Linked DNA regions of Homo sapiens: region 2 is linked to region 1. The links are contacts of gene promoters, found by promoter capture Hi-C in blood cells and fetal thymus (Javierre and others, 2016). All regions are on one chromosome and are shown on one strand. Each heading gives the region's core, a stretch centred on a gene start or on the middle of the fragment in contact. The rest is flanking DNA. Distances are from core to core; before and after follow the strand shown. Region 1 holds the start of MFNG (MFNG O-fucosylpeptide 3-beta-N-acetylglucosaminyltransferase). Region 2 has its middle 9.6 kb from the start of TMPRSS6.

Region 1 (5,892 bases), core at 1,351-3,850:
AAAAGGTCTTCCCACTCTCTACGACAGGGTGTCTTTGACAAGGTGCAGATTGGACTTGGAGGCCTGCCAGTCTGTCACCACTGGGGTAGGGGCTGGGGAGCTGGACCCTGAGTGGCAAAGGCGGTGCCCTGGGGGAAGGGCAGCCTCCCTGCATGGGAATCAGCGGCAATGCCGCTTTCTACTCCAGGCCTTCCCAGGTGTTGACTCTCCCATCCCCCCAGCCACATCCTCCCCACCGCGGGCAGTGGCAGTGGCCTTTCAGTTTACCCTTAGCTGTGCTCCTCTGCTCATGTGGCCCCTGCCTGGGCTGCTCTCCCTGCCTGAATCTTCCTGATCTTTGAAGCCTGGCTGAGATATTACGTATCTCCATGAAACCCACCACCAGGTCCTCCCAGCCCTTGGGACTTCTCCTGGCCCATGCCATATTCTGCCTTGTGGTGGGACGAGGGTGTCTGTGTGGCTGTCTCTCGATGTCTGTGGCTTCCTGGGCATGGAAACTGGGCTGTGTGCATTTGGGTACATGAACCTCCCCCTGCCCCACAGTGAGCCTGGCCCAGTGCTTGGCCTGGGGAAAGGCAGGGGCCTGTGACTTGGCTGCCTTTGCCTGTTCCCCGTGTCAAGCATCCTTTCTGTGGGGTGGAGAAGCCCACTCATCCTGTAATCGTCACCAAGTCATATTTTTGTCCCCATTTTAGAAATGATGAAGGTAACTTTCCTAGAGTCATACAGCCAGTGAGTGGCCCAGTTGGGAATTTTTTTTTTTGAGATGGAGTTTCACTCTTGTTGCCTAGGCTGGAGTGCAATGGCGCCATCTCGGCTCACTGCAACCTCTGCCTCCCGGGTTCAAGTGATTCTCCTGCCTCAGCCTCCCTAGTAGCTGGGATTACAGGTGCCTGCCACAATGCCTAGCTAATTTTTGTATTTTTGGTAGAGACGGGGTTTCACCATGTTGGCCAGGCTGGTCTTGAACTCCTGACCTCAAGTGATCTGCCTGCCTTGGCCTCCCAAAGTGCTGGGAGTACAGGCGTGAGCCATGGCGCCCAGCCCCCAGTCAGGATTTAAACCTGGTCTGTGGGGTACAGAGTCTGGGATCATCACCAAGGCTGGCATCATCACCATTCTGAGAATATGGCCTGTGAAGGGGCCTGGCTGGGGGCTGGCCCATGAGAAGGTCATTCAAAGGGTTGGTTTTCCCTTCCTCTCCCCCAGCTGTCCTCATGCAGGGTTGAGCCCGGCAGGGCCACTTCCCTTTGCCAGCCACCTGGTACTTTGTTGTGTTGAATTAACATTGATTGAGTTCTTGTCTGCCGGTCACTGTTCTAGGCACTGGGGATTAGGGACTCAGTGATCAAAAAATAAATCCTGCCCTGATATTCTCATGAGGAGGACAGAAACTTAGTTAAACATACAGAATGTTGGAAGATGAAAAGTGTGATGAAGAAAACAGTGAAGTGGCTTGAGAGGGACAGGCCTGGGGGGCTGGGAAGGAGGCGGCGAGGGGTTGCAATGTTAATAACGTGGTCAGGGAAGGCCTCACAGAGACGGTGACCTTTGTGTAAAGACCAGAAGGGAGTGGGGGAGTGAGACGTGCAGGTCTCTAGGGAGGGGCCCAGGTGGGAACAGCAAGTGCCAAGGTCCTGTGGCGGCCAGGTGCCTGGGCCAGCGAGGGTCCCAGGTTCTGGAGTGGAGCAGGGTGAGTAGCAGGAGATGGGGTGGGAGTAACTTGGGAGCCAGCTCACGCAGGGCCTTGTGGGCTGCTGTGTGCGTTTTGGCTTTTGTTCTGAAGAAAATGGGAGCCAGTGCAGGCTCTGAGTGGAGGAGGGAGGAGGTGTGAGTGAGCTTGTGCGAAACAAGATGGAGGTGGTGGCTGGAGAAGGCCCTCTGTCTGTCCACTGGTCAGGTGCTGGGAGAGAGGCAGCTCCAGAGACTGCGGAGTGAGGTCGGGTATGGGCTGGGGCACAGCTGGACAGGTGCCCTCAGGGGACCTCCTGTGAACTAGATGAGGAACAGAGACCTGGGTTCTGCCAGCTCTGCGGCTGAGTTGCTGGATCGTTTTTGCTCATTCTGTGCCTTTGTGCCTTATGTCTTCAGCTATAAACTGGGAACGACAGTCCCAGTGCTGTTGTGAAGACCTCAGGAACTGAGCGAACAACTGTGGGAGCCCCAGAGGTTAAGAGGTTATCACGGAAGGCTTCCTGGAGGAGGGAACCCTTAAGCTTTGAAGTCCAGATAGAACTCAGCCTAGTGGAGGGAATGTGGGTGAGGCTGGTGGAATATGGGAGAGCATCCCGGAGGAAACCTGTGAGCAAAAGCTGGGGGCTGGGTGAAGCAGGACACCAAAGTAATGGGTGTTGAATGGGCCGAGCTGACAGCTCTCTGGGGGAGTGGACGGTGCTGGAGGACACTCCCTTCCACCGGGCACGGAGGGTTTGTTGTGACTTCCTCCCACCGCAGCAGCTGGCAGAGCCGGGGCTGCCCTTTCTGCTGGTGCCTCCTTTCAGCCGCCTCTGTCTGGGGTTCCCTTCGTCTGGCCCCGCCCCTCGGGCTAAGCGGGGCGGGGCCAGGCGGTCCCGGAGGCTGCGGCAGGCCGGACAGCGGGAGCAGGTGGAGGACTGGCGGCGGTCGAGATCGTGCTGCCATGGCTCAGCCTCTGGGTCCAGAGCCTCAGCTCCTACCTCTTCCCTCCTTGCCAGCCCCTGATGCCTGCCAGACTTTTGCCTCTGCTGGAGCCCCTGCCTGACCAGCTTCCCCTCCCTGTCTGGTTGGGATTTGGGGGCTGAGCTGTCTGGGGTCCCAGGGCCAACCAATGCAGTGCCGGCTCCCGCGGGGCCTGGCTGGAGCCCTCCTCACCCTCCTGTGCATGGGGCTCCTGTGTCTGCGGTACCACTTGAACCTGTCCCCGCAGCGGGTACAAGGGACCCCCGAGCTGAGCCAGCCGAACCCGGGGCCCCCTAAGCTACAGCTACACGATGTCTTCATTGCAGTGAAGACGACCCGGGCTTTCCACCGCTTGCGCCTGGAGCTGCTGCTTGACACGTGGGTTTCCAGGACCAGGGAACAGGTGACAAGTGGGTGACATTGGGCCCTGGGGGTGGCCCCTGGCCTAAGGGGTTCTCAGAGGCCTTTCTACTGGGCTGGGGTCCCTGACTGCCTCATGGGAGAAGCTGCTCAATACCTGCCTAATCAGGGATCCTCTTCCTCTCTCCTTCTTCCGGGCTTTAGGGGCTGCCTGCGGCCCTGCCCGTGCCCTGTACTGGTCCTGACTCCAGGTGCACCCAGGTCCTACCGCTCCACCACTTTTGGGGGCCAGGCTGGGCCCCTGCTCCAGGCTCCCGGGTCCCTCCTGGGGGTTCTTCTATTCCTAGCCGCTCCCGTGGGGGCTTCGCTCCTAGCCACCCAGGCCCAGCCTGGCATCAGGGGTAATGGTGGGTGTTGGGCAGCTGGGGTGGAGGCCTCCAAGAGGTCCTGACCCAGACCCGTGCCCAGGCCAGGCTGTCCCACCCAGGCCCTAGGTGCTGTCCTGCCCGGGCTCTGAGGGTGGAGGACGGGAGGAGAATGGTGGGGTCTGTTCTTGGGGGAGGCATCCCTTCGGCCTTCCCGATAGCCCCTGCCGCTGTGTCTCTGCTGCCCCGGGTGTGCCGAGGCCGCCATGTCTGGCCTCCTGTGTTGGCTTCCTGCGGACTGCTTCCGAGGGAGGGAAGGAGAGCGCATGCCACGAGGGTGGCGGCTGAGGCAGTGGTGGGCCGGAGGTTGGGGAGGCCTGCCTGGCACGTGGGATTGTGTGTGTGTGTGTGTGTGTGCTCACACGCACGGAGCTGGAGTGTGCTAGATGTGTGTGACAAGAGGCATGTCTGTCACATGGCTGTGCGGCTCCGGCGAGCCAAGTCCCTTCCAGCCCTTTCCCTCCTCGCATCCAGTATCTTCCTTAAGCAAAGTTAGTGATGTCGGTGTTAGGGACCGTTGATGGGGGAGGTGGAGAATGGGTACACACACACACACACACACACACACATCGGTCCCCTCTTTGGCGGCTGGCTCAGTGGGAGGAAGTGACTGAGTCTTTGGAGATAGTCGAGACCTCCTGGAAGACCAAAAGGAGGGGGAGAGGATGGCTGGCAGAGGCCAGGCCCTCCTGGGGAGGGGCACCCTGCCCTGATTTCTGCCCTCGTACTTGGGATTAACTCTTCCCCAGCTGGCCCCCAGCACCTCAGCTCTTCTCTGGGCCCCACACGGCTTCTCATCTTGGGGAGATCCTGGTTCTTCCTGCGGAAGCAGCCAAGGCGGGCCCTCCCGCAGGCCTTCCTGTTTATGCGTCTGTGTACCCGGGAGCGTGGCCTCACGTGGCCCACGGCCCTTTCCTGTCTTATCTCCATCACCGCGGTGGTGCCCTTGCCCCGGATGAGGAAACTGAGGCCAGAGAGAGGAAGTGCTGGCTGGCGTGGTGTCACGCAGAAGGCCTGAGGGGACAGAGCCCAGTGGGACCTAGAACCTTGCTCCTGGTTGGGTGCTTTTCTCCCCTGCTGAGACTTGGGAACCCTGTGAGGACTGGGTCACTGGGCTACAGGAGTCGCTACCCCACGTCTCTCACCCTTTGGCTCACTTCTCTCTGTGACCTCAGCCAAGGCCCTCCCCTTTCGGCCCGCAGTTTCCCCATCTGCACGGGGCAGGAGTGTCTGGACCGGGCCTGAGCTGGTTAACTGCAGCGCTGGGCGCCCGCCTGGCTGGTTAAGGGCGGTCGGGTGGCAGGTGGGCCTTGCGGCAGGGGCCGGGACTCGTGTGCCGGCCTTTGTCCTGGGCTGAGGGGGTGGGCTGGGGGAGGCGGGTTTTGTGCTCAAGGCGAGCCTTTCTCCTCCCTATGGTCCCCTTGTTGGGGGGAGAGGTGGCAGCAGCCCCACCACTCCCCTCCTCTGCAGCAGATGGTCCCCGGCCACCCCTCCCCTGCCCCAGCAGGCTGCGTGTCCCTTTGTTTCCCGCGGCTGCCTGTGAAGTTTTCACCATTGTCAGGTCCCCTCCTTAAACAAGTCAAATGCAGCCCTTGGCTCCAAAGAAACTCTGCCCATCGCTCTGTGCCAACCTTAGGATTCCCAGGGACTGAAAGCGCCAGCCTCACTGCCCTCTCCTGTGCCCCCGCCCCCTCTGGACCTGGACTCCCCTTCCCGGCTCTCTCCCTCACTCTGTTCATGGCTGCTGGTGTTTTGTTTTGTTTATTTTGAGACAGAGTCTCACTCTGTTTTCCAGGCTGGAGTGCAGTGGCACGATCCTGGCTCACTGCAACCTCCGCCTCCTGGTTTCAAGTGATCCTCAGCTTCCTGAGTAGCTTGGACTACAGGCATGCGCACCACGCCCGGCTAATTTTTCTATTTTTAGTAGAGATGGGGTTTTGCCATGTTGGCCAGGCTGGTCTTGAACTCCTGGCCTCAAATGATCCACCTGCCTTGGCCTCCCAAAGTGCCTATTCTCCTGCTTTATTCAGGCTTACTAGATCTTCACCGGGAAACAGTCCTCAGCCCATTTGGCCCATGCTCCAAGCTTGAGAGTGTTTCACTATCGGGTGGCTGTTTGGTGGCAAAAGTTTGTCGAGGGCAGGGTAGGAAAGGCCTGGTTTCTTTGATAGGATCCCTTGAGGCTGTGTTGAAAACCGACTTGGGGTGGAGGCAGGGAGCAGGGAGGCCAGGGAGGAGGGCCTGCAGCAAAGCAGGCAGCAGGTGACGACAGTGGCGGGGACTAGGTGGCCGGGTGGGCCGGAGGGAAGAGCAGCGTCCCAGACGATTTGGAGGCTGGTGAGCAGAATTGATGACAGGCTCGGGAAGAGGTGTGAGAGGAAGAGAGGAGGAGCGGGGAGTCTGAGGTTTTGGGTCCCAACCAGTGAGAGGGAGGAGCAGGTCTTGGGGA
Region 2 (5,892 bases), core at 1,580-4,079, 370 kb after region 1:
CTCATCTCCCATTCCTCTATTTACCTGGCCTCATGCTGGGCACTGGCCACAGAGAGGAGGCCGGCTACTGCTCTGTCCACAAAGAGTCTCCAACCTTGTCTGGGAGGGAGTGACTCTGGAGGACACATACAAGTAGACCAGCTGATCACAGCCCTCCTTCGGTGTGGAAGAAAATCAACCCGGTCCTGTGAGCACAAGCCTTGATCAGGAAATGGTGCCAGTGAACACTCTGGTGGAGTCTTCTAACCTGGGGAGGAATTGTGGAATGCCGTGCGGGGCTTTAGCAAGAGAGGCTGAGCCAGAGTTCAGGTAGTTTTGGATAGCTGCTTGAGGATGGTTCTTAGAAGAGGAAGGAATTGTTCATTCATTCATTTATTCATTCAACAGACATTTAGGAGGGCCTAGTACCTGCAAGTCACGGTGTTGGGGATCCAGCAGCGAGCAAAGCCCCCTTCATTCTACACTTTCAGCCTTTGTGGACACCTTGGGGCAGTGTGGCATAGTGGTTATAGCCTTAACTCTGGAGCCCCGCAGCCGGGTTAAGTACTGGCCCCCTCACTCTGGAGCCCCGCAGCCGGGTTAAGTACTGGCCCCCTCACTCTGGAGCCCCGCAGCCTGGGTTAAGTACTGGCCCTGCTGCCTATCAGCTGTGACTTTGGACAAATACCTAAGCTTCTCCGTGCCTCAGTTTTCTCATCTGTAAAAGGGGACAATACCAGGACTGTTGTGAGGATGAAAGAAATAATTGAATGTGGCAGGGTGCTGTGGCTTGCACCTGTAATCCAGCACTTAGGGAGGTCCAGGTGGGAGGATCCCTTGAGCCCAGGAGTCCAAGACCAGCCTGGCTAACATGGTGAGACCCTGTGTCTACAAAAAATATATACAGAAAATTAGCCGGGCATGGTGGTACATACGTGTAGTCCTAGCTACTAGGGAGGCCGAGGTGGGAAGATCCCTTGAGCATAGGAGATTGAGGCTGCAGTGAGCATTGATCGTGCCACTGCACTCCAGCCTGGGCAACAGAGTGAGGCCCTGTTACAAAAAAAGAAGTAAGTTAATGTAAAGTACTTAGGAGAGAAGAGCTAGCCGTGGGAGAGACAGACAGAGACAGGGCTGTGACCAGGGCAGCCAGGGGCCAGAGATGTGGAAGCTGCTGACTTGCTGGCTGGCCTTTTGGATACTCTGTTGCTGTGTTGGTGATGGCTGTTTGGGGCAGGGGATGAGCTGGACACCTGCAGGCTTGGTGTCTCCTGCCACCTCCCTGCCCTTTCCAACCTCCTAATCCTGACAGCTCATCTCCCTCAAGCACCTGGGTAGGTCTTGGGGGATGATGGTTTGAGATAAGGCCCAAATCTATGATGACAAGATTCTAGGAGGTGTGACAAATGCTGAAGGAAACCTATGAGGTCTTCTTCCTACCTCTCAAATCCAGCCGTGCTGGCTGCCACCCGCCTAGCTCAGGGCCGAGGACATTTTGTCCCTCCCAATTCTGTACCACTTGGCCCCTTTGAGCCTCAGTCTCTTCATCTAAAATGGGGTGAAGAAGTGAAATTTCAAAGGCCGGGTGCGGTAGCTCACTCCTGTAATCCCAGCACTTTGGGAGGCCAAGGTGGGTGGATCACCTGAGGTCAGGAGTTTGAGACCGGCCTGACCAACATGGTGAAACCCCATCTCTACTAAAAATACAAAAAAATTAGCTGGGCATGGTGGCCTGCGCCTGTAGCCCCATCTACTCAGGAAGCTGAGACAGGAGAATCACTTGAACCCAGGAGGCGGAGGCTGCAGTGAGCTGAGATCGCGCCACTGCACTCCAGCCTGGACAACAGAGTGAGACTCTGTCTCAAAAAAAAAAAAAGAAAAAAAAAAAAGATAGCCCACCCTGTGCCCAGTAACTACTGCTCATTCATTCTAATCTATTTATTGAGCTTCTACTATGTGCACTGGACTGTTCAAATTGGACATTTCGGTTTGAGAGAGCTCGGGTTGCTTGGAACGGGCTTGATGGTGGGTGGCTGGCCGTCCCCGGCCAACGGTCCAGTGATTCTCGTAACAGTGGGTGTAGGAGAGCACCCGTTACACTGTCAGTCCGAGCAATCAGCCAGGAACGGTACATGTTGGCGAGAGAATTCTATTGCTTGTAATTTATGCAAATATGAAACTAACAATGAAACCTTTGCTGCTGGGATCCCAAACTCAGATGCTGACAGGGACTGGGGTTTGGGTAGATATTAGCTGCAGTGATGAAATGCTGATGGTGTACACCCAGTAGATGCGGGCCCCGTTCTAAGTTCCTCACACAGGTTCTGTCAATCTTCACAACACTTAGGCTTACTGTCTCATTTTCTATATGAGGAAATGAAGGCCCAGTAAAATCAAATACCTTGTAGCTCAAGGGCATGTGGCCAAATAAGTGGTGGAGCCAGGACTCAAACTCAGGCTCCTGACTCTAGTAACTCTTTTTAACCCATGCAGTGTGATACAATAGGGAGTGGTGAGGTCTGTGTCAAACCGAAATTGCTCCAGGGCAGCCATCGCTGATTGTTGCCATGTTGGGGATCAGCTAGGTCATCTACTTTTTTTTTTTTTTTTAAGACAGAGTTTCACTCTTGTTGCCTAGGCTGGAGTGCAATGGCGTGATCTCAGCTCACCGCAACCTCAGCCTCCCGGGTTCAAGCGATTCTCCTGCCTCAGCCTCCCGAGTAGCTGAAACTACAGGCACGCACCACCACGCCTGGCGAATTTTGTATTTTCAGTAGAGACGGGGTTTCTCCACGTTGGTCAGGCTGGTCTTGAATTCCCGACCTCAGGTGATCCGCCCGCCTCCACCTCCCAAAGTGCTGGGATTACAGGCCTGAGCCACTGCGCAGGCCTGATCTTCTACATTTTTAAGAGAAGCTGAAAATTCAGTTTTTCCTGCAAAGTGTCCTTATTTTTAAATATTGGCCACTCATCTTTTAAAAACAGAAAACAAGCAAGCCAAGCAAAATGTGTCTGCACGGTAGAGAGGGAGGGAGAAAGGAAGAGCATCCTGCGGGATTTATTGTAAAGATCACTTCTTCCTGACCCCAGGTGTGCTGGCTGCTCCGTGCCCCCACCCCCTGCTTGCTGAGCTCAGCTGCAACTCTCTCCAGTTAACGATCCTCGATCCTCCGTGATCCATCCATTATTGAATCCCAGCACCTGCCACAGGTTGTTCGTTGAATGGATGTGTAGGTTGGTAAATGGGCAAAGGGGAGGAGGGAAAAAGGAAAAGGAGAAAGGAAGGAAGGAAAGGTGGGAGGGGAAGTTACTTAGAGGCTTTGAAAACCTGGAATGACCAAGGTTCTGAGAAACCAACGTGGAGGGAAGAGGCAACAGAGCCGACTGGTATCAGGAGCTCTCTCGGGCCCACCAAGTCAACAGCTGTCTGACACAGATGACCAAGGAGAATAGAGGTACTCGGGGAACCTGAGTGAGTGCTGGGGTCTTCCCATGAAAGGGCAGCAGGAAAGAGCCTCCTTGGGGAAATTTAGGTGTCTGTGACCTTGGACAGGGCCCCCTTCAAGGGCAAGAGCTAGTCCCACAAACCGGACTGTCTTTAGAGGAGGCTCTGCCTGCAATGTTTTGAGGCAAAAAAAAAAAAAAAAAAAAAAAAGTTGAAAATTGCAATTTTGTGTCCTTTGGAAATTTTTGTTGACTCTCTGCCTAAAGCCTTATGTATATGGAAATAAGTAATATTGTTCTTTTGTTTTAGTTTTTAGAATTCATTTTTGGACAGTATACTGGGAAGAGTACAGGCTGGGAATCAGGTCACCTGGGTTCCAGTCCCAGCCCTGCCTCAGCATTGCTGTGCAACCTTGGGTAGTCTCCACCCACTCTCTGGGTCTGGCTCCCTGATGTGGTTTGGCTGTGTCCCCACCCAAATCTCATTTCAAATTGTAGCTTCCATCATCCCCACGTGTAGTGGGAAGGACCAGGTGGGAGGTAATTGAATCATGGGGGCAGGTTTTTCCCATGCCGTTCTTGTGATAGTGAATAAGTCTCATGAGCTCTAATGGTTTTGTAAAGGACAGTTCCCCTGCACACACTCTTGCCCGCCACCATGTAAGACGTGCCCTTACTCCTCCTTTGCCTTCTGCCATGATTTTGAGGCCTCCGCAGCCATGTGGAACTGTGAGGCCATTAAACCTCTTTTTCTTTATAAATTACCCAGTCTTGGGTATTTTTTCATAACAGCATGAAAATGGACTAATATAGTCCCCCTATCTGTTCTGGGAGCCCCACCTGCTACAATCCCACAGTGGAGGAGAAGGTCAGGCTGAGTGATGCATGCAGAGTTTCCATTCTGTGTCCCCAAGGTGGCTTGAAGCAGCCCCTCCCAAACCCCAAACCCCTGATCAGCATCTGTACCCCGACTGCCCATCTGGGAAAGAAGCGACTGGGCATGCCAGGGCCTGGTGGTGAGTTTGTCCTAGCAGCATCTTCAGACAGAGGCCAGAGGCCAGGACCCAGGGCTGAGACAGAGGCCGAGGGCTCAGGAGTGGTGGTGTGGGCAGTGGGAAGGAACACAGAGACAGGAGAAGGTGTCACTGGGAAGGACAACTGGCTCTGAAGCCAGAGGGTCCTGGGTTTGAATCCAGCTCCTAGCACTTCCTGACTGTGTGACATCAAGCAAATCACTGCTCTGAAACTCCACTTTCTCACCTCAGATGGGTGAAGTGACCATTTTTCTTATTGGAGATCAGGCCTATCCTGGGTCTGGTTAGCTGTATTGTAAGCCATAGATTATTCTAAGCCTTAGGATCCTTAAATCCCTGTACAGATGGAGGAAGACAAGCCACAGAGATGGGGACTCCTGAGAGGTCCCACACCTGTTGGTGACAGGCCATTCTGGTGGATTCTTATTCCTCCAAGCACATAAGAAGCATCTCCATGTACTGCTGAGGGTCCTGTCCTCCACCGGGTGCTGTCACGTGGTGGGCGGGGCCAAGTGCCTGCCAAGCTTCTGTCCCACTGTCTGTTTCCCTAGGCTTGGCAGCTTTCTTCAAGGGCAGCAACTGAGACTTGTTCTATTTCTTTTACATCTTTGTTCTTGTTCTTTCTTTTTTCTTTTTTTGAGATGGAGTCTTGCTCTGTCGTCTAGGCTGGAGTGCAGTGGTGGATTTCGGCTCACTGCAACCTCTGCCTCCTAGGTTCAAGAGATTCTCCTGCCTCAGCCTCCCGAGTAGCTGGGACTATAGGCGCCTGCCACCACTCCCAGCTAATTTTTTTGTATGTTTAGTAGAGATGGAGTTTCACTGTGTTAGCCAGGATGGTCTTGATCTCCTGACCTCGTAATCCACCTGCCTCGGCCTCCCAAAGTGCTGGGATTACAGGCGTGAGCCACTGCGCCCGGCCCCCCTCTCTTTTTATTCTTATCTAAAATCAAAGTGTTGGCAGGCTCATTCTCTCCCTGAAGGCTCTAGAAAAAAAATCTTCCTTGCTGCTTCCTAACCTCCTTACATTTTTATTTTTTTAGAGACAGGGTCTTGCCCAGGTTGGAGTGCAGTGGCAGGAGCATGGCTCACTGCAGCCTCAACTTCTTGGGCTCAAGTGATCCTCTCCCCTCAGCCTCCCGAGTAGTTGGGACTACAGGTACATGCTGCCACACTTGGCTAATGTTTGTATTTTTGTAGAGGCTGGGTCTTGCTATGTTGCCCAGGCTGATCTTGAACTCCTGGGCTCAAATATTCCTCCCACCTTGGCCTCCCAAAGTGCTGGGATTACAGGCATGAGCCACCTTGCCCAGACTCCTTATCCTTTTTATGTTATTTTTCTTGTTCTCTTTTGTGGCTGTGTTGAGGCTCAACACCAATCAAATGAACGAACAAGTGAATTGCAGTAGGGACACCGTGCATTGGAAAGAGATGGCAG

The links. The method cuts DNA at HindIII sites, captures the fragments that hold promoters and counts their contacts. A CHiCAGO score of 5 or more calls a contact.
Region 2: a fragment that was not itself captured here is called in contact with the fragment with the promoter of MFNG in region 1 in 1 of 17 cell types (non-activated CD4 T cells); the score reaches 5.6 in non-activated CD4 T cells.

What each region holds. Positions count from the first base shown.
Region 1 is chr22:37,483,092-37,488,983 of GRCh38, reverse strand. It overlaps MFNG (MFNG O-fucosylpeptide 3-beta-N-acetylglucosaminyltransferase), which reads left to right and starts at 2,600. Exons shown (of 8, transcript NM_002405.4): 1 at 2,600-3,061. The coding sequence starts at 2,807. RefSeq lists enhancers at 1,198-1,707, 1,708-2,219, 2,220-2,729, 3,206-3,255, 3,656-3,715 and 2 more and a silencer at 2,506-2,635. The HindIII fragment of the contact is 3,313 bases long and covers 2,219-5,531 here.
Region 2 is chr22:37,116,336-37,122,227 of GRCh38, reverse strand. No RefSeq gene overlaps it. Among named protein-coding and RNA genes, the nearest start is that of TMPRSS6, 9.6 kb to the right of the region's middle. The HindIII fragment of the contact is 4,309 bases long and covers 675-4,983 here.